4 separate regions of the Homo sapiens genome follow, and all the other regions are linked to region 2. Evidence: promoter capture Hi-C in human tissues and cell types (Jung and others, 2019). All regions are on one chromosome and are shown on one strand. Each heading gives the region's core, a stretch centred on a gene start or on the middle of the fragment in contact. The rest is flanking DNA. Distances are from core to core; before and after follow the strand shown. Region 1 has its middle 150 kb from the start of NEBL. Region 2 holds the start of PLXDC2 (plexin domain containing 2). Region 3 has its middle 30 kb from the start of MIR4675. Region 4 holds the start of LOC105376442 (a long non-coding RNA gene).

Region 1 (4,445 bases), core at 18-2,517, 940 kb before region 2:
AGTTCTGGCCAGGGCAATCAGGCAGGAGAAGGAAATAAAGGGTATTCAATTAGGAAAAGAGGAAGTCAAATTGTCCCTGTTTGCAGACGACATGATTGTTTATCTAGAAAACCCCATCATCTCAGCCCAAAATCTCCTTAAGCTGATAAGCAACTTCAGCAAAGTCTCAGGATACAAAATCAATGTACAAAAATCACAAGCATTCTTATACACCAACAACAGACAAACAGAGAGCCAAATCACGAGTGAAGTCCCATTCACAATTGCTTCAAAGAGAATAAAATACCTAGGAATCCAACTTACAAGGGATGTGAAGGACCTCTTCAAGGAGAACTACAAACCACTGCTCAAGGAAATAAAAGAGGATGCAAACAAATGGAAGAACATTCCATGCTCATGGGTAGGAAGAATCAATATCGTGAAAATGGCCATACTGCCCAAGGTAATTTACAGATTCAATGCCATCCCCATCAAGCTACCAATGACTTTCTTCACAGAATTGGAAAAAACTACTTTAAAGTTCATATGGAACCAAAAAAGAGCCCGCATCGCCAAGTCAATCCTAAGCCAAAAGAACAAAGCTGGAGGCATCACACTACCTGACTTCAAACTATACTACAAGGCTACAGTAACCAAAACAGCATGGTACTGGTACCAAAACAGAGATATAGATCAATGGAACAGAACAGAGCCCTCAGAAATAATGCCACATATCTACAACTATCTGATCTTTGACAAACCTGAGAAAAACAAGCAATGGGGAAAGGACTCCCTATTTAATAAATGGTGCTGGGAAAACTGGCTAGCCATATGTAGAAAGCTGAAACTGGATCCCTTCCTTACACCTTATACAAAAATCAATTCAAGATGGATTAAAGATTTAAACGTTAGACCTAAAACCATAAAAACCCTAGAAGAAAACCTAGGCATTACCATTCAGGACATAGGCGTGGGCAAGGACTTCATGTCCAAAACGCCAAAAGCAATGGCAACAAAAGCCAAAATTGACAAATGGGATCTAATTAAACTAAAGAACTTCTGCACAGCAAAAGAAACTACCATCAGAGTGAACAGGCAACCTACAACATGGGAGAAAATTTTGCAACCTACTCATCTGACAAAGAGCTAATATCCAGAATCTACAATGAACTCAAACAAACTTACAAGAAAAAAACAAACAACCCCATCAAAAAGTGGGCGAAGGACATGAACAGACACTTCTCAAAAGAAGACATTTATGCAGCCAAAAAACACATGAAAAAATGCTCATCATCACTGGCCATCAGAGAAATGCAAATCAAAACCACTATGAGATATCATCTCACACCAGTTAGAATGGCAATCATTAAAAAGTCAGGAAACAACAGGTGCTGGAGAGGATGTGGAGAAATAGGAACACTTTTACACTGTTGGTGGGACTGTAAACTAGTTCAACCATTGTGGAAGTCAGTGTGGCGATTCCTCAGGGATCTAGAACTAGAAATACCATTTGACCCAGCCATCCCATTACTGGGTATATACCCAAATGACTATAAATCATGCTGCTATAAAGACACATGCACACGTATGTTTATTGCGGCATTATTCACGATAGCAAAGACTTGGAACCAACCCAAAAGTCCAACAATGATAGACTGGATTAAGAAAATGTGGCACATATACACCATGGAATACTATGCAGCCATAAAAAATGATGAGTTCATGTCCTTTGTAGGGACATGGATGAAATTGGAAACCATCATTCTCAGTAAACTATCGCAAGAACAAAAAACCAAACACCTCATATTCTCACTCATAGGTGGGAATTGAACAATGAGATCACATGGACACTGGAAGGGGAATATCACACTCTGGGGACTGTGGTGGGGTCGGGGGAGGGGGGAGGGATAGCATTGGGAGATATACCTAATGCTAGATGACACGTTAGTGGGTGCAGCGCACCAGCATGGCACATGTATACATATGTAACTAACCTGCACAATGTGCACATGTACCCTAAAACTTAAAGTATAATTTAAAAAAAAAATTAAAAAAAAAAATAAATAAATAAATAAATAAATACCTTGATTTCTATATGTAAAAAAAAAAAAATGTCTGTGAAGAATGCCATTGCTATTTTGGTAAAGATTGGATTAAATCTGTAGATCTCTTTGGGAAGTATAAACATTTTAAGAATATTAATTCTTTCAAACTGTCATTATGGGATATTTTTCCATTTATTTTGGTCTTCTTCAATTTTTCATTAATGTTTTATAGTTTTCATTGTAGAGATATTTTACCTTCTTGGTTAAATTTATTCCTAGGCTGGTTTTTTTGGTGGCTACTGTAAATGGTATTTTTTCTTGATTTCTTTTTCAGATAGTTTGCTATTAATATATAGAAATGCTACTGATTTTTTTTTTTTTTTTTTGAGACAAGATTTCACTTCTGTCACCCAGACTGGAGTGCAGTGGCATGATCTCAGCTCACTGCAACCTCTGCCTCCCTGGGCCCAGGTGATTCTCTTGCCTCATTCTCCCCAGTAGATGGGACTATGGTGTGTGCCACAGCACCTGGCTAATTTTTGTATGTTTTGTAGAGATGGGGTTTCATCATGTTACCCAGGCTGTTCTCATACTCCTAGCCTCAACTGATCTGCCTGCCTCAGCCTCCTAAAGTGCTGGTATTACAGGTGTGAGCCACCATGCCTTGCCAGATTTTTGTATGTTCATTTTACATCTTGTAACTTTACTGAATTTATTAGTTCAAATAGTTTTTTTGATGGAATCTTTAGAGTTTTCTGTTAATGGGATCGTATTTTCTGTGAACAGGGACAATTTAACTTCCTTCTTTCCAATTTGAATGCCTTTGATTTCTTTCTCTTGTTCTGGCTAGAACTTCCAGTATTATATTGAGTAGAAGTGGTAAAAGTGGGCAGCTTCATCTTGTTCCAGACCTTAGGAGAAAAGCTTTCAACTTTTCCCTGTTCAATATCATGTTAGCTGTGGGTTTGCCATACATTGCCTTTATTGTGTTGAAGTATGTTTCTTCTTTGAGAATATTTAGCATGAAGTGAAGTTGAATTTTCTCAAATCCTCTTCTTGCATCTATTGAAATAATTATGTGATTTTTGCCTTTCATTCTGTTAATGTGGTGTATCATATTTATTGATTTCCATATGTTGAACCATCCTTGCATTCCTGGGATGAATCCCATTTAATCATGGTGAATGATTTTTTAAAAATATGCTATTGAATTTGCTTTGCTAGTATTTTGTTGAGGATTTTTGCATTTATGTTCATCAGAGATATTGGCCTAAAATTTTCTTTTTGGTTGTTGTGTCCTTGTCTGGTTTTGATATCAGGGTAATCCTCTCCTTGTTGAATTAGTTTGGAAGAATTCTTTTGTCTTTAATTTTTTGAGAATAGTCGATAAAAATTGGTATTAGTTTTTCTTTAAGTGTTGCCTAGAATTTTCAGTAGTGAAGTCATTAGGTCCTGGGCTTTTCTTTGATAGGATATCTTTAATTACTCATTCGATCTTTTTCTTTGGTTGGATTTTCTATTTCTTCATAATTCAGTCTTTGTAGTTGCATATGTCCAGGAATTTATCCATTTCTTCCAGCTTTTCCAATTTGTTGACATATAATTGTTCATAATTGTTTCTTATGATAGATCCTTTGTATTCCTATGGTACCAGTTGCAATGGTTCCCTTTTCATCTCTGATTTTGAGTCTTCTATCTCTTTTTTAAAAGTTTCTTGATTGATTGAGTTATTCCTCTAGCCCACCAGCAAGTTTCATAAGGCTTGAGTATTCTTTACCCTCAAAGACTTTTTCTCACTGTGAGGGACACTAGTCTTAATCTGGCAAAAGTACCTGGAGCTATTCTGAATGCTCCAGATGGTCTCCAGTTAGTTAGGGTATGATTGCTTTGTCAGAACAGGAGGACTTGCAGATATACAGCCAAGTTTAGAGAAAGTATCCAGGGAAGTGGGGCCAGATACTTGGGTCCTGGTTTTGGTTTTGTTCCCACTTACTGTATGACTTTGAATAAGCTACATAACCTTTCTGTGCTTTACTTTCCAGACTCTGGTCTACCCCACCCTTATAATAAATCTCATAGTAAGTCAATGAAGCCATGTTCAAGTATCTGTGTCAAATATTATGGTAGGAAATATGATAGATAAGATAAACATATTTTAAGTGTTAAGGGGGATGTGGTTTTTCTCTGGCCCTATGTAGAGGAAATTTCATTTGGAAGAACTCATTAGAGAACCACTTCTGGCCTCTCCTTGCTGCCCCATGTACTCTGCAGGGCAGAGAAGAGATTGCTGTCACTGGGAGAAGGGACAGGACATGCTCAGGCCAGTCCATTCCTTTCTGAGCAAGTCTTACTGCAGGGGCATGAATTCTGGTGTGCCCTTCTGTATCCTACTCCTGTCTCCACCCCACAGAAGCTGTCTTG
Region 2 (4,030 bases), core at 1,303-3,802:
AGATAAACATTTGCTGGCATTTATTTTTTTTTCCTTTACTGCAAATGCATTATTTATTCCTAGTGCCAAAGAAGTTTTTAAATAAACAACTTGGGATGCACATTGGCACACACATCCTTTTAACCTCGTTTGTGGTGGAGTTAATTGTTTTTATTAAGCATCTATTCATACCGTGAATAAGTACATGAAAATTACTGTTGCAATTTTTAAATAACTGTGTCCTTTCCTGGAAGGCTAAAAGTGTTATTTTTTCGGACCAATGAAACGTATCAGAGAAATAAACAAAAGGCATAGTCTACTGTCATAAATCATACACAGTCAAGAACAACCTATGTCCATTAATGCAGAACAATTAAATGTGACAAAGACAAGTCAACACCCAAGAAATCTGCATTTTGTTCTCAGCTTTAAAAGTGTTGTCATCCTATTGCCTCCCTGCACATACACCCCAACACACACACCCCTTCAACCATAAATAAGAGCGCAGAGTCAGTATCTGTGCTTTATCTAGAACAGTTTACACCAGGGACAGGCGAAGTGTTGTGACTGTCTTCTAAGTCGCGGCTTGGTAAATTTCACTCAAGGGTTTCCTTCAAGATCTTCAAGATTCACCTTGCCTGGAATCCCCAGGTGTCCCCCAACCTTCCATCTGTGACTCTCTAGTTGACTGTTGAGGACGCATGCATACTTTCCGGGCAATCATTTAAATTACACACACACACACACACACACACACACACACACACACACACACACCAGAAAAGAACAAATTGACAAATTGATTATCCTAGGGAGAAAGTTTTCGTTTTCTTTTCTTTTCCCTCCAAGTTTTTTCTTTTTTCTTTTTCTCTCGTTTCACCTCCTCTCGAAGTCCACCCTAGTTCACCAATTTCTGCCAAGATCTCTTTCTGCCTGTGTCTTCACTTTCTTCACTGAAAGGCAGAAATGGGGAGTAGGCACCCAGTTCGCGGTGGGCAGGGTTCCAGGAGGCAGCTCCCGCTCGGCGATAGCCCCCGGGGCGCAACTCCCCGCAGGACGCGCACCTGCCAGGACAGCCACTAAGAGGATGCGGAGGTTGGGGGCCCTCTCGGGGACAAAATCAGGGCACTCCAAGGAACTCTCTGCGCGTTCAGGCCTGTCTGTGAAGCTGGCAGGCGGAGGACAATGGGAGCAGGGGTAGGTCTCCAGAGGCGAGCCCGCCTCCACCTTTCCCACCTGCTCCCCACCTCTGCGCCGGCCGCATTTACCCCGCCCCCCTTCCAGCGCCCGCTTGGCCCAGGTCACTAGACGGAGCTAGTGGGGATCGCCAGGGGAAGGAAGGTGCTGCCACAGGGAATTTTCTCGTGCAGAGGGGAGACCTGCAATCCCTGGCTTTCACAACGTCCCCCACCCACCCCATACCACACACGCTTAGTTTAACCAGCAGCGAGGAAGGAGGAGGAGCCGGAGAGCACACAGCCTGGAGATGCCAGGTCCTAGGAGATGTATCCACGGAAGAAGCTTTGCTCTCACACTGAAGCCCTCCCTGGGCTACTTTGGGGAGACAGTACCACCCCCTGCCGCCCAGGTGAAGTAAGCCCGAAAGCCTCAAGAAAACCCCTAGTCCCCGGCGTCCTTCTCTTGATAACCCTCTTTCCCCATTTGGGAAGCCTAAGTTTAGCCGAAAAGCAACTGCAATAAGTTTCCCAAGGGCAGATAGGTGATGTTGGGGGGAGAGGGTAGGGAGCACGAGAGTGCCAGAGAGGTCTTCAGCTGCGCACAAAATCAGCAAGCTAAAGTGCATCTTACTTACCAAGGATTTGGTCTCCGGGTTTCCCATCGGCGAACTGAAACTGGTCCGTGAAGAAGTGGCAAAGTAACATAACTCCTGCAGCGGCCAGGTCGGCCTTCGGGAACCTCGCCATGCCGCCGCCGCCACCTCCCTACCCCACCCGCCAGTCCTTCGCCGGTGCTCGGGGGCTCCCGATGCAATAGGCACGACCGGGCCAAACGCTGCGGATCGGTCTCGGTAGGACCCGGAGGCCTTTGTAAATGTCGCTGCGATTTCACAGTAGGGAACCGAGAAGAGGAAGAAGCGAACGCGAGTAGGAGCGCAGCGCTCTTCGGACCTCTGAGGCTCTCTTTGCAACTTGCCACACTCGCAGCCCTCACCCGACACTGAACAACAACCGCGGGGAGGAGAGGCCACTTGCAGCCGAGGCTCGCAAACTGTCGGTTCCACTCGGGCAGCGCCAACCCGGTGCCCGCGGACGGTGACTTCCGAGCCCCAGCGATGCGCTCCACTGGGTTCAAAACAGATCTAATTCCACAGCCAGCGCCGCTGCCTGCCCCAGATCCACTAGGGCTGGTCGGCTCTGCAGGAACTTTCCTCTGTCTAGGGATGGCCCCGGCAGGAGGTTTAGGTTTGCGGGAAGGAGGTTGATGACGAAACCCTCCCGACAAGTTTTGCTTCTTTTCTTCGCCCGACGCAGGGCGCGCGTCCTTTCTCGCAGCCGGAGGAATGGGCAGCTCCAAAGAGCTGAGCCCTGGGAAGGTTAGGGCTGCAGCAGTCTGAGGTCCGAAGCCAGGAAAAAAATGTGTTTAAAAAAAAAAAAAAAAAAGAGGAAGAAGAAAGGAAAAGGGTGGAGTGGGAGGGAGTCACGCTGGAACCTATCGGGAGAGGGTTCCTCCGGGCTCAGGAGGAGGTGGCCCCAAGCCCCCGCGGAGCCCCAGGAGTTTGGTGGCGGAGGAGGCGCTGCCGTCGCCACGCTCCCCCGCGCTCCTTCTCCACACTTTGAGGAGGGAAGGCAGCTCGCAATTTGCCAGATCTGCCGCCGCACCCTCCTCCCTCCTCCCTCCGCCCTCCCCTTCGCTCCTCCAGGCTTCTCCCACCTTCCTCCCTGAAACCGGCAGCCCGCACAGACCTGTCCAATGGCTGCACTTTCCTCGGGGCTGGCTGAGGAGTCGCGGCCAACAGATTAAGCCGGGGGAGCCTAGCGAAGGGGAGGGAGAGGGCCACTCCAGCCCCGTGCGCCCCAGGCAGCCGGCTGCCCCAGAGCGCGGGGAGAGGGGACAGGCCGGGGAGCTATCGGGGGAGCGCGGGGCGGTACCTCCGCGCCGCCGGGGCGCCATCCTCGCAGCCTGCTCGCACGCCCTGGGCAGCTCCGCCAACTGCGCCCCACACCCACCTGGCTCCCGGGCCGCCTTCGCGCCCGACTGCGGGGGGCGATCGCGCCCCGCCCCGACCCTGGCGGGGTCTCCCTGGGCACGAAAGGGTTAACCACAGCTCGCCCCTTCGCGGAGGCTGGTTCTGGTAGTGGCTAGGGAGTGGAGAAAGCAAACCAGAGCCGGTTCGGTTACCGACTCTGCGAAGCCCCCTCGACCCCAGCCCAGCGCGGGAGGGTGGCGGAAGGTGGTGCACCGCAGCGTGGTCCCCGCCGCTGCCGCCGCGGCTTTGCAAAGTGTCAGCGGGGGCGAAAGCGAGAGTTTAAAGGAACAGGAGGCCCATTGAATTTCCTACCGGAGCTTTCAGGGGCTCTGGCTCCCCAGTTTGTTTTTGTTTTTTCAGCTCGGGGATCTGTTTCCGCGTTAACCCTTGCCGGCCCTCTCGTTAGTTGATATCTTATTTTGCATACAGTTAATCATTTTTGAAAGGGATAAATACAAGGAAAAGAAGCAAAGCGCTATTGGTTAAAAGTACAGGATCTAGAGCCCGGACAGCCTGGGCTGGAATTTCACCTCCCCCGCAATGAGCAGTTTATCTCCTAGCCTCAGTTATCCATCCATCAAATGGAGAGAATTAGAGTAACGCCCTTATAAGGTGGTTGCAATGGATTGGATGAGTTAACTGTATATTTAATAAATATAGAACATTGCCTACCGCAAAGTACATGGCTTTGTTTAAGTGTTTACTGAAGCAAAAGTGAGAGAAGACGACTTCAATCACATAATAAATGTGCATGTGTTCTAAGTTCAAGGTCCTTTCCACTCCAAGCTCTGAAGAGTCTATGGATGCTGTCAATAGATGTCTCGGCTTGCCACAAAACCCACT
Region 3 (4,439 bases), core at 1,371-3,870, 760 kb before region 2:
TGGAACAAACAGAACAGAAAATCCAGGAACGTTGGGACAATTTCAAGTGGTGTAACACTTATATAATTGGAGTACCAGAAGGAAAAGAAAGAGAAGAAGTTTTGAAGTAATCATGGCTGAAAAGTTTCCAAAATTAATGGTATACACTAAACAACAGGTCCAGGAAGCCCAGCAAACACCAAGTAGGATAAATATCAAAAAATCTGTTCCTAGGCATTTAATTTTCAAGCTACAGAAAACCAAAGACAAAAAGAAAATATTGAAAGAAATGGAGAAAAAAAAAAACACACTTTACCTGTAGGAGATAAAGGATAATAATCACATGCAACTTCTTGTCAGAAGCCATGCAAGGAAGAAGAGAGTGAAATAAAATATTTAAAAGGGTCAAAAGAAAAAGACCACGGATCAAGAATTCTGTATCCAGTGGGATTATCCTCTACAAGTAAAGGAGAATTAAAGATGTTTTTGGATAAACAAAAGCTAAGGAAATTCATCAGTAGACCTGGACTGTCAAAAGTTTTCAGGAAGAAGGAAAGAATGTTGGTCGTAAATTTGGATGTGCATAAAGAAAGAAAAAAATAATAGAAAGAATGAATAAGACCTACTATTTGATAGCACAATATGGTGACTATAGTCAATAATAACTTAATTGTACATTCTAAAATAACTTAAAGGGTATAACAGGATCATTTTTACCTCAAAGGGTAAATGTTTGGGGGATGGATACCCCACTCCCATGATGTGATTATTATGCATTCCATGCCTGTACAACCTCATGTACCCCATAAATATATGCACCTATGTACCCACAAAAATGAAAAGAAATTAAAAATCATTTTAAAAAAGAGCATCAGAGAAGGAATAAATGAAGGTAAAATAATTTTTGTCTTAGTTGATCTAGTATTCAGAGTGGTAATAGTAACAACATATTGGGTAATTATAGGATATGGATAAATAAAAGAAGTAGCAGCAATGTTATAAGAAACAGGAAAGAGGAAGTAGGAATTCTTTGTTATAAGTTGCTTGCATTACCTGTGGGGTGGTATAGTGTTATTCAAAAGGGGACTTAAATTAATTGTAAATATATACTGCAAGCTCTAGGGAAACCACTGAAAAAGTAAAAAATATATATATATATAAATGATATTTTAAGAGAAGAGAGAAAATGGAATCATGTAAAGTGCTCAGTTAAAAGCAGAGAAAGTAGGAGGAGGGGGGGATATGGTGACACAGGATATTTCCTTGACCCCTTTGCGAGACTCACGACAGGGGTGCCTCATTTACTCAGCCCACCACTCTCAACTCCTTGATGGATGGAACGCAGGAGCAAATGAGTGCAGGAACTGGAGTGAACAAGCACTGGAACTAGCCAGTCGCTTTGGCACTGGCATGATCAAACTCCACTCACTCGGACCTGTTACTTTCCACCTGTTGTGGGAGGGAGCACACAGGTGAGTGGGTGCGGGCATCAGAGTGGCCACTTTTGGGCTCTAGCAGGAGCAAACCCTATGCAGGCCCCACAGCAGCATTCAGATGGGGCTGCCTGCAACCCCCAAAGCCCCAGAGAATATGTTACAGTGCTCTTTTAGCTCTGCCATCCATGGATTGCTTAAGTGTTAACAGCTCAGTGGGCCCTTTGCCTTTTTGCATGAGGTGGCTGCCCTCCACCAGCAAGGGCAGAGGGCCAGTGTGACAGCCTTTTGTATCCACACTAGTGGCTCCCAAGCTCTTGTCTAGCATCCAGGAAAAATGAGGTCACATGAATGAATTGAAGGATGGCAAATGTGGGAAATTTTATTGCCAACGAAAGAGGGTCACAGTGGGAAGGGGAGCTGAAAAGGGGACTGGGCAGGTAGGAAATCTTTCCCTGAAGTCTGGCCATCACCAGCCAGATTCTTCTCTGGAGTTAGGCCGTCAAGCTGTCCTTCTGAAGTCAAACCACTTCTCTTCGACATCCAGCTGTAGTCCCATCTACCGGGTGAGCCTGGGGTTTTTATAGGCACAGGATGGGGCAGAGCAGGGCCATGTGTGGTTTAGGAAAAGGCAACATTGAGCAGGAAAACAGGTATAGAAGTTATCACTTTGGGCTGTGGTTTCAAGCTTTTCAGCTTGAGGGTGGGGTTTTGCCAGGGACCCTCCCTTTTCTGCATAGAATTTCTCTGTCCCCTGTCCCTATCAAAAGGAAGCATAAGTTGGGGTTTTCTTTGTTCCTGACTTGTGTGCCAATTTCTTGAACAATATTCTGAACTCTTTCTGCCCACAATGACCTGGTTGAAGTGCTTTAATTCTTTAAAAACAATTAATGTGTTTGTTGTAATGTGTAAATTGTGTTTGTTGAAAGTAGGCATTTGCATTAGTCCATTCTTGCACTGCTATAAAAGAGCTACTTGAGACTAGGTAATTTATAAAAAGAAAAAGAGGTTTAATTGACTCACGGTTCTGCAGGCTGTAAAGGAAGCATGGCTGGGGAGACCTCAGGAAACTTATACAATCATGGCGGAAGTGGAAGGGGAAGCAGGCACGTCTTACATGGCCAGAGCATGAGAAAGAGAGAGTGAAGGGGGATGTGCTACACACTTTTAAACAGCCATAACTCATGAGAACTCACTCACTGTTCTCACTTGCTGTTCAAGAGAACTCACTCACTCACTTGCTGTTCAAGAGAACAGCAAGGGGGAAGTCTGCAGTCAAGATCCAGTCACCTCCCACCAGGCCCCTCCTCCAACACTGAGGATTGCAATTCAACATGAGATTGGGGTGGGAACACAAGTCCAAACCATATTAGCATTTAAATACATACCTTAAGATAGACTTTCAGTACAATTGACTTGTGAGCAAGACAGGTTTGAACTGCATGGGTCCACTTACATGTGACTTTTCTTCTGCGTCTGCCACCCCTGAAACAGCAAGACCAAGACCAACACCTCCTCTTCCTCCTCCTCCTCCTCCTCAGTCTACTCAACATGAAGACAGTAGGGTGAAGACCTTTGATAATCCACTTCCACTTAATTAATAGTAAACATACTTTTTTAAAATGATTTTCTTAACATTTTCTTTTTTCTAGCTTGCTTTATTGTAAGAATGTAGTATATCATATATATATCATACAAGATATATGTTAATCAACTGTTTATGTTATGGTAAAGTTTCTGGTCAACAGTAGCTAAATAATAGTTAAGTTTTGGGAAGTCAAAACATATACACAAGTTTTCGATTGTGTTGGGGATCTGCACCCCTAAACCCTGTGTTGTTGAAGGGTTAACTGTACTTTAAAAAGTTATACCAGCCACTAATTTTTGGAGAGTCACTTGCTCTTGGAAAATCATGTTAAAGCTTTGAGTTCACTCCCTAGTAAAATGCATAAATATCCAGCCTTATAAAATGTGTTATGTGATTTCAAGAAGCCCACACATCTCCTGCATCCACCCCTGAATCCTCCAGAGAACCATGAGCCCCATGTTATGAAAGCTTGCACTGTATTTTGTGCTTTTAAATAAAAATGTACATATGTATTCTCTCATGAGACTGGAAATGGGGAAGAACATATAGAGGGTCTGTCTCTTGAGAGGTTTCTGCTCGGTAAGATTCAAGCCTTCTACCTTTGGTGGCACAAGTCAGTTGTAATCCACTCACAGAGACGCAGGCAGGCTTCTGCCAGATAGTCATCAGTCCAATGGAAAGTTATTTTTTGTTCAACTAGAAACAGTTCTGTTGCCAAAGCATTCAATTTCAAGACAGGAAGAAATCATCCATTTCACTGGTCTCCAAACTTTTAAAAATCACACCCCATCAGTAAAACATTTTGATCAAATTTTGCCAATAAGTATATATTTATCTACAATTTATACCCAGTCTGGGTGTGGTGGCTCATACCTGTAATTTCAGCACTTTGGGAGGCCAAGGCAGGAGGATGGCTTTGAGGTCAGGAGTTCAAGACCAGCCTGGCCAACATGGCAAAATCCTGTCTCTACAAGAAATACAAAAACTAGCCGGGTGTGGTGGCATGTGCCTGTAGTCCCAGCTACTCAGGAGGCTGAGGTGTGAGGATCGCTTGAGTCCAGGAGGTCAAGACTGCAGTGAGCCATGATCACACTACTGCACTCCAGTTTGGGTGACAGAGCAAGACCATGCCTCAAAAAATAAATAAAATAAAACTGATACCCATGTGCTCCTGTCGTTTTGTGCAAAATTAGAAAAGCACGATTTCAATCTTATTTTTAGGTTTAAAAATAGGTATCAATAGAAGTTTTAATATTTTCTCCACCCAGCTTAGTGGATTGTCTTGTGCACTCCCTAAGGTGCATGGATTCCTTTCTGGCAACCACTGCGCTAGGTGGAAATGGGAGCTGGGTAGATGTAGGTGCATTAATAAAACAGAGCCCTTGTGCTATGAAGGTGCCCTACAAGGTATCTATCGTATCCAAGGGAGAAACTAAGTG
Region 4 (4,325 bases), core at 49-2,548, 780 kb before region 2:
CTCCCTCAATAATGACATTAATCCATTAATGAGGGCAGAGTCCTCATGACCTAATCAATTACCTCTTATTAGGCCCTGCCTCCCAACACTGTTGCATGGGGAATTAAGCTTCCAACACATGAACTTTGTGGGACATATTCCCACCATGGCAATCACCTATCACCTTCTCACTTGTTAGACATAATTTTTGAAATTCTATTTCAGTAAGATTGAAAGGGAAGCTGGCAATTTTTCCATCCATAGAGTGAGAATCTGATTACTATTGGACCAGCTGGATAGTTGTTTCTCTGTAAGGGATACTAAAATACCTCCCCGGTAATGAAACATCACTGAAAATGTGATGAGAGGGATAACGTTTGTAAGGAATACTTTGATAAACTACATCAAAAGGAAAATGGAGAAATGAACAGGTAAAGCATGCTAGGTTTTTAGGACAGTGAAATTATTTTGTATGATACTATAATGATGAATGTATGACATTAAGCATTTTTCAAAACCTATAGAGTTGTGCAACAAAGAGTTGATTCTAATTTAAACTATGGCCTTTAGTTAATTATGTATCAATATTGATTCATCATTTGTAACAAATGTACCAGACTAGTGCAAGATACTAATAAGGGAAACTATACTGGAGTAGGCGAGGGGGTATATTACTCTATACATTCTGCTCAATATTTCTATAAACCTAAACAGCTCTAAAAGTGAAGTCTATTCTTTATAGTCTACAGTTTAAAGTCTATGTAAAAGAGGAAATAAGAGGGGTATGCCTTGGTCACAGTAGAGTCATGTTTTAGTAACAATATATGGCCCTTATTCCTAAAGTACCTTCTCAGGAGGATGGGAATATAGTTGGAAAGCTTCAGTTTTGCTGGGTGAGGTTTTAAGCGTGTTACCAGAGCTAAATTGCTCTGAGCAATAGAAGAGAATGTCCTGTCTCTTACCATGTATTAAAGAACATTGATTTGAAGGGGCACCAAATGCTACACCCAAGTGGCCACATGTTTTGGTCTCGGTAGCTCCTGTGCTCTGAGTCAGATTTGGAAGTGAATTCTGGCTTATTATCCTGGCTCATGACTCAGCTCTCCAAGGCTCTCCCCGGTGCAAGAGCCTGGTGGGATCTCAGCCCTGTGAGTCATCCTTGCTGCCCAGACGACAGCTGCTACCAGGCTAGGACACAGAGGCTGGGGGGCCTCCTCCCTACCCTACCCTTGCAGGATGCACTGGAGAGCCACCTTAGAATGATTCCACCATGGACCTATATTTTGACATGGTTTTTAAGAATTAATGTCCCATAAAGTGTTTCTGTATATTTTGTCAGTGAAAGAGAGACATACAGGTTCACATCATAACATGAATCCAAGATTATCTATATTTAATATTTATTCCCTAATCAGGATGAAAAGTTTCATTCCATCTTGGAGTAAATTGAAGACATAGCTGGTTCTTTATTCATTTTTCACAGATTTCCTGCGTAGCTCAAAGCACTTCACGAATATAAAATTACTCAGTAAGTGGCACGAAAGCCACCTTATAAAGTAGGGATATGTTTGAGTAGAAGAATTATTTGCCTACATATCTGTATTTTTTAAAAAGCCTAAGACAAAATAGTAATGTTAAATTCAGGAGGGGCTATTTAGTTTTATAATGTCATAGAAAATAGCCTGGACAGAAATTTCATGATTGTTTCCCATTTCAAAAGTTTTGAATTTTTTATTTTCATCTATGTTTTAAATAATATTAGCTCATAATTTATAATGGACTTATTAATGGTAATATGGTAGTTTTCCTCTTCTACCTGACTTAAAGGGAGACTCAGCAACACACACACGGACACACACAGACACACACACACACGGTGGGGGGAAGAGAGAGAGATAGAGAACAGAACGCAGAGAAAGCAGGCATATTTAAATCTAAAAAACAGTTAAGAAACTAAAGTCAAATTTGGGAAAGCATTATTTAAGGAGGGATTATAGACTAGAAAATGTTCAAATGAAGGGTAAAGATCATATAGCTTAACTTTTTAATTGTAAATGTTCATCGAAAATCACAAAGTTAAAGGCAGTGCAAGATTGTGAATTCTCCATATGTTAATTACTTTTCCTGCTACACACCGGAAGTAACAAAAGGGATCTCCCTGCCTTTCCAGTCACCCTAGAAGGCCCTCCCATCAGACTTTTGTCCCGTGCACTGCTCTGAAGGCCTCTTGTTAATGTCCCAAAGACTTTTCTGTTACCAGAATCAATATCGTTGTCATCTTGCCTACCTATTTCGGTACTTGTTCAGTTGATCACTCTTCTTTTTTAACACTTAATTTCTTGAACTTTTAGCATATCCCTATCACTGACCTGTTTTTCAGTCTCCTTAGCTCATTCATGCTCATCTTTAGGTGTCTAAAGGCTGGCATGCCTTGGGGCTCAAGCATTTTACCTCTCCTTCACCCCTCTCACCTTCTCACCTGAAAATTACTTGCTGACTATAATCCTCTTTTGGAGAAAACACCCATTAAGGTGTTTGGAACTTAACATGTCAGAACTGAACTTTTAATTCCCTCTGCTCCTTAAATTTGTTCTCTTACCATAAATGACAGCTCTTTTCTTCCAGTGACTTGAACTGAAATCTTGGTCCTCTGACTGAAATAAAAACCTCAGGGAGCTTGTAAAAGGCAAAACTGTGTTGTTGCTTAATGCATCTCTCACTGTTAATTCTCTAGCATTGTCATGAAGGTTTCAACCCTCTTTCTTGTCTATTTCTGGATTGAATGGTGTTTCCCATAGAACTGGAGCACAGGCCTGGAATGTGGATGGAATTTGGATGGTTGCTAAGTTACTTGGTACATTCTATCCCCTGCTTGCTCTTGACAGTGAAGACTTGAATGTGAGATCTTCAATAGGAAAACAAACCCTGTCGAGGCTTCTTTATGAAAAATCAGATCGTGAATCAAAAGTACAAATCAGAAAAAAAACTTTAACATCCATCCTTTTTGCTTCTGGAAAATAAATGTCTCAGTATAATGAATAGAATTGAAAGATAAAAAAATGAAGGTTTTCAGAATCTTAGTATCAACACACACAGTTTTGGCTATAGACTGAGCCTCCACAAAAGTATCACACTGAACATAGGCCCTGAAGTATGGCAGATTTCATTTAGATAAAAATGCACGAAAAAGAAAGGAGCTGCTATTTTAATTCCATGATTTTTTGATACTGTCATTTACCATTCAAAAAGAAAAAAAGAGAATAATGGTGTTACATTGAGAGTGTTTAGACAAGTGTTTTTTACTTTACAAGGAATGAAAGCAGGGTGCTTGGCTATCAGACTGCATTGTTGTGAGATATTTCCCTGGTCAGCTATGACTCACTGAACTCTTCATACAAATGATTGCTAAGGATGAGAGTTATTAAAAGTTCCTCATCAAATGTATTGTTTTCAAGGGGTTTATGGGACCAGGCCTCCTCATTCCTAGATCCTGATATCATTAGATTGAACCTTTGGGGTATATATATGTTTTTTTCTTAATGTTGGATAACCTTGGATTTATCAGTCAAATGTATCTTTTCTTTAGACACTGCCTCATAATGACATAGAGAAATACAAAAGGGAAGAATAGCTTTAACAGGTTAACCACAAACATGAAAGTGCATAAAAATGTTGTTTATAGAAATATCAACTGCCTTAAATGATGTAGCTAAAAGATACCACATAAGATCCAGTTATTTCAGCTTGCTATACAGTTTATGCCTATTGATAAAGCTAATTAACAAAAGTGACAGGCAAAAGTAATGTATTTCCATATAAGATGAATAAAACAAGAGGAAGATAAGTGTCATCTAAATAACCCGTCTTAAACTTTTTCTCAAACTTAGAGTCTAAGGATCAATAAATTGATGTAGAAACCTAAGTAAATGACCTATAAATTCATATCAAGTAATATATTCTCATTATTTCAAGGCTTTTTGAGATGGATTTTCACACATTTTCTACATGAGCACACTTAAAAAGAAATATGAAAAATATTGTTTCATTGAATATGTTTCATTCTCTATTAGTGTCTTTTTTTTTAAGACAGGGTCTCACTTTGTCACCCAGGCTAGAGTAAAGTGACAGGAACGTGGCTCACTGCAGCCTCAACCTCCCAGGCACAAGAGATTCTCCTGCTTTAGTCCCCAGAGTAGCTGGGACTACAGGCATGCACCATCATGCCCAGCTAATTTTTTTTTTTTTTTTTTTTTAAATAGTGATGGGGTTTTGCCATGTTGCCCAGGCTGGTCTTGAACTCCTGAGCTCAAGGGATCTGCTTGCCTTGGCCTCTCAAAGTGCTGGGA

What was found. Contacts are between HindIII fragments. The study calls those that stand out against the background at their distance.
Region 1: a fragment that was not itself captured here is called in contact with the fragment with the promoter of PLXDC2 in region 2 in 1 of the 25 tissues and cell types used here (dorsolateral prefrontal cortex).
Region 3: a contact is called between a fragment that was not itself captured here and the fragment with the promoter of PLXDC2 in region 2, in 2 of the 25 tissues and cell types used here (H1 embryonic stem cells and dorsolateral prefrontal cortex).
Region 4: a contact is called between a fragment that was not itself captured here and the fragment with the promoter of PLXDC2 in region 2, in 1 of the 25 tissues and cell types used here (H1 embryonic stem cells).

Annotation. Positions count from the first base shown.
Region 1 is chr10:20,749,249-20,753,693 of GRCh38, reverse strand. No RefSeq gene overlaps it. Among named protein-coding and RNA genes, the nearest start is that of NEBL, 150 kb to the left of the region's middle. The HindIII fragment of the contact is 5,109 bases long and covers 1-3,821 here.
Region 2 is chr10:19,814,954-19,818,983 of GRCh38, reverse strand. PLXDC2 (plexin domain containing 2) reads right to left here and starts at 2,552. Exons shown (of 14, transcript NM_032812.9): 1 at 1,793-2,552. The coding sequence starts at 1,904. It overlaps LOC124902388 (a long non-coding RNA gene), which reads left to right and starts at 2,756. Exons shown (of 2, transcript XR_007062078.1): 1 at 2,756-4,030. RefSeq lists an enhancer at 2,863-3,628. The HindIII fragment of the contact is 14,250 bases long and covers 1-4,030 here.
Region 3 is chr10:20,579,470-20,583,908 of GRCh38, reverse strand. No RefSeq gene overlaps it. Among named protein-coding and RNA genes, the nearest start is that of MIR4675, 30 kb to the right of the region's middle. The HindIII fragment of the contact is 5,080 bases long and covers 81-4,439 here.
Region 4 is chr10:20,595,564-20,599,888 of GRCh38, reverse strand. LOC105376442 (a long non-coding RNA gene) reads right to left here and starts at 2,879. Exons shown (of 4, transcript XR_007062080.1): 1 at 2,579-2,879. RefSeq lists an enhancer at 2,336-2,836. The HindIII fragment of the contact is 3,153 bases long and covers 1-2,874 here.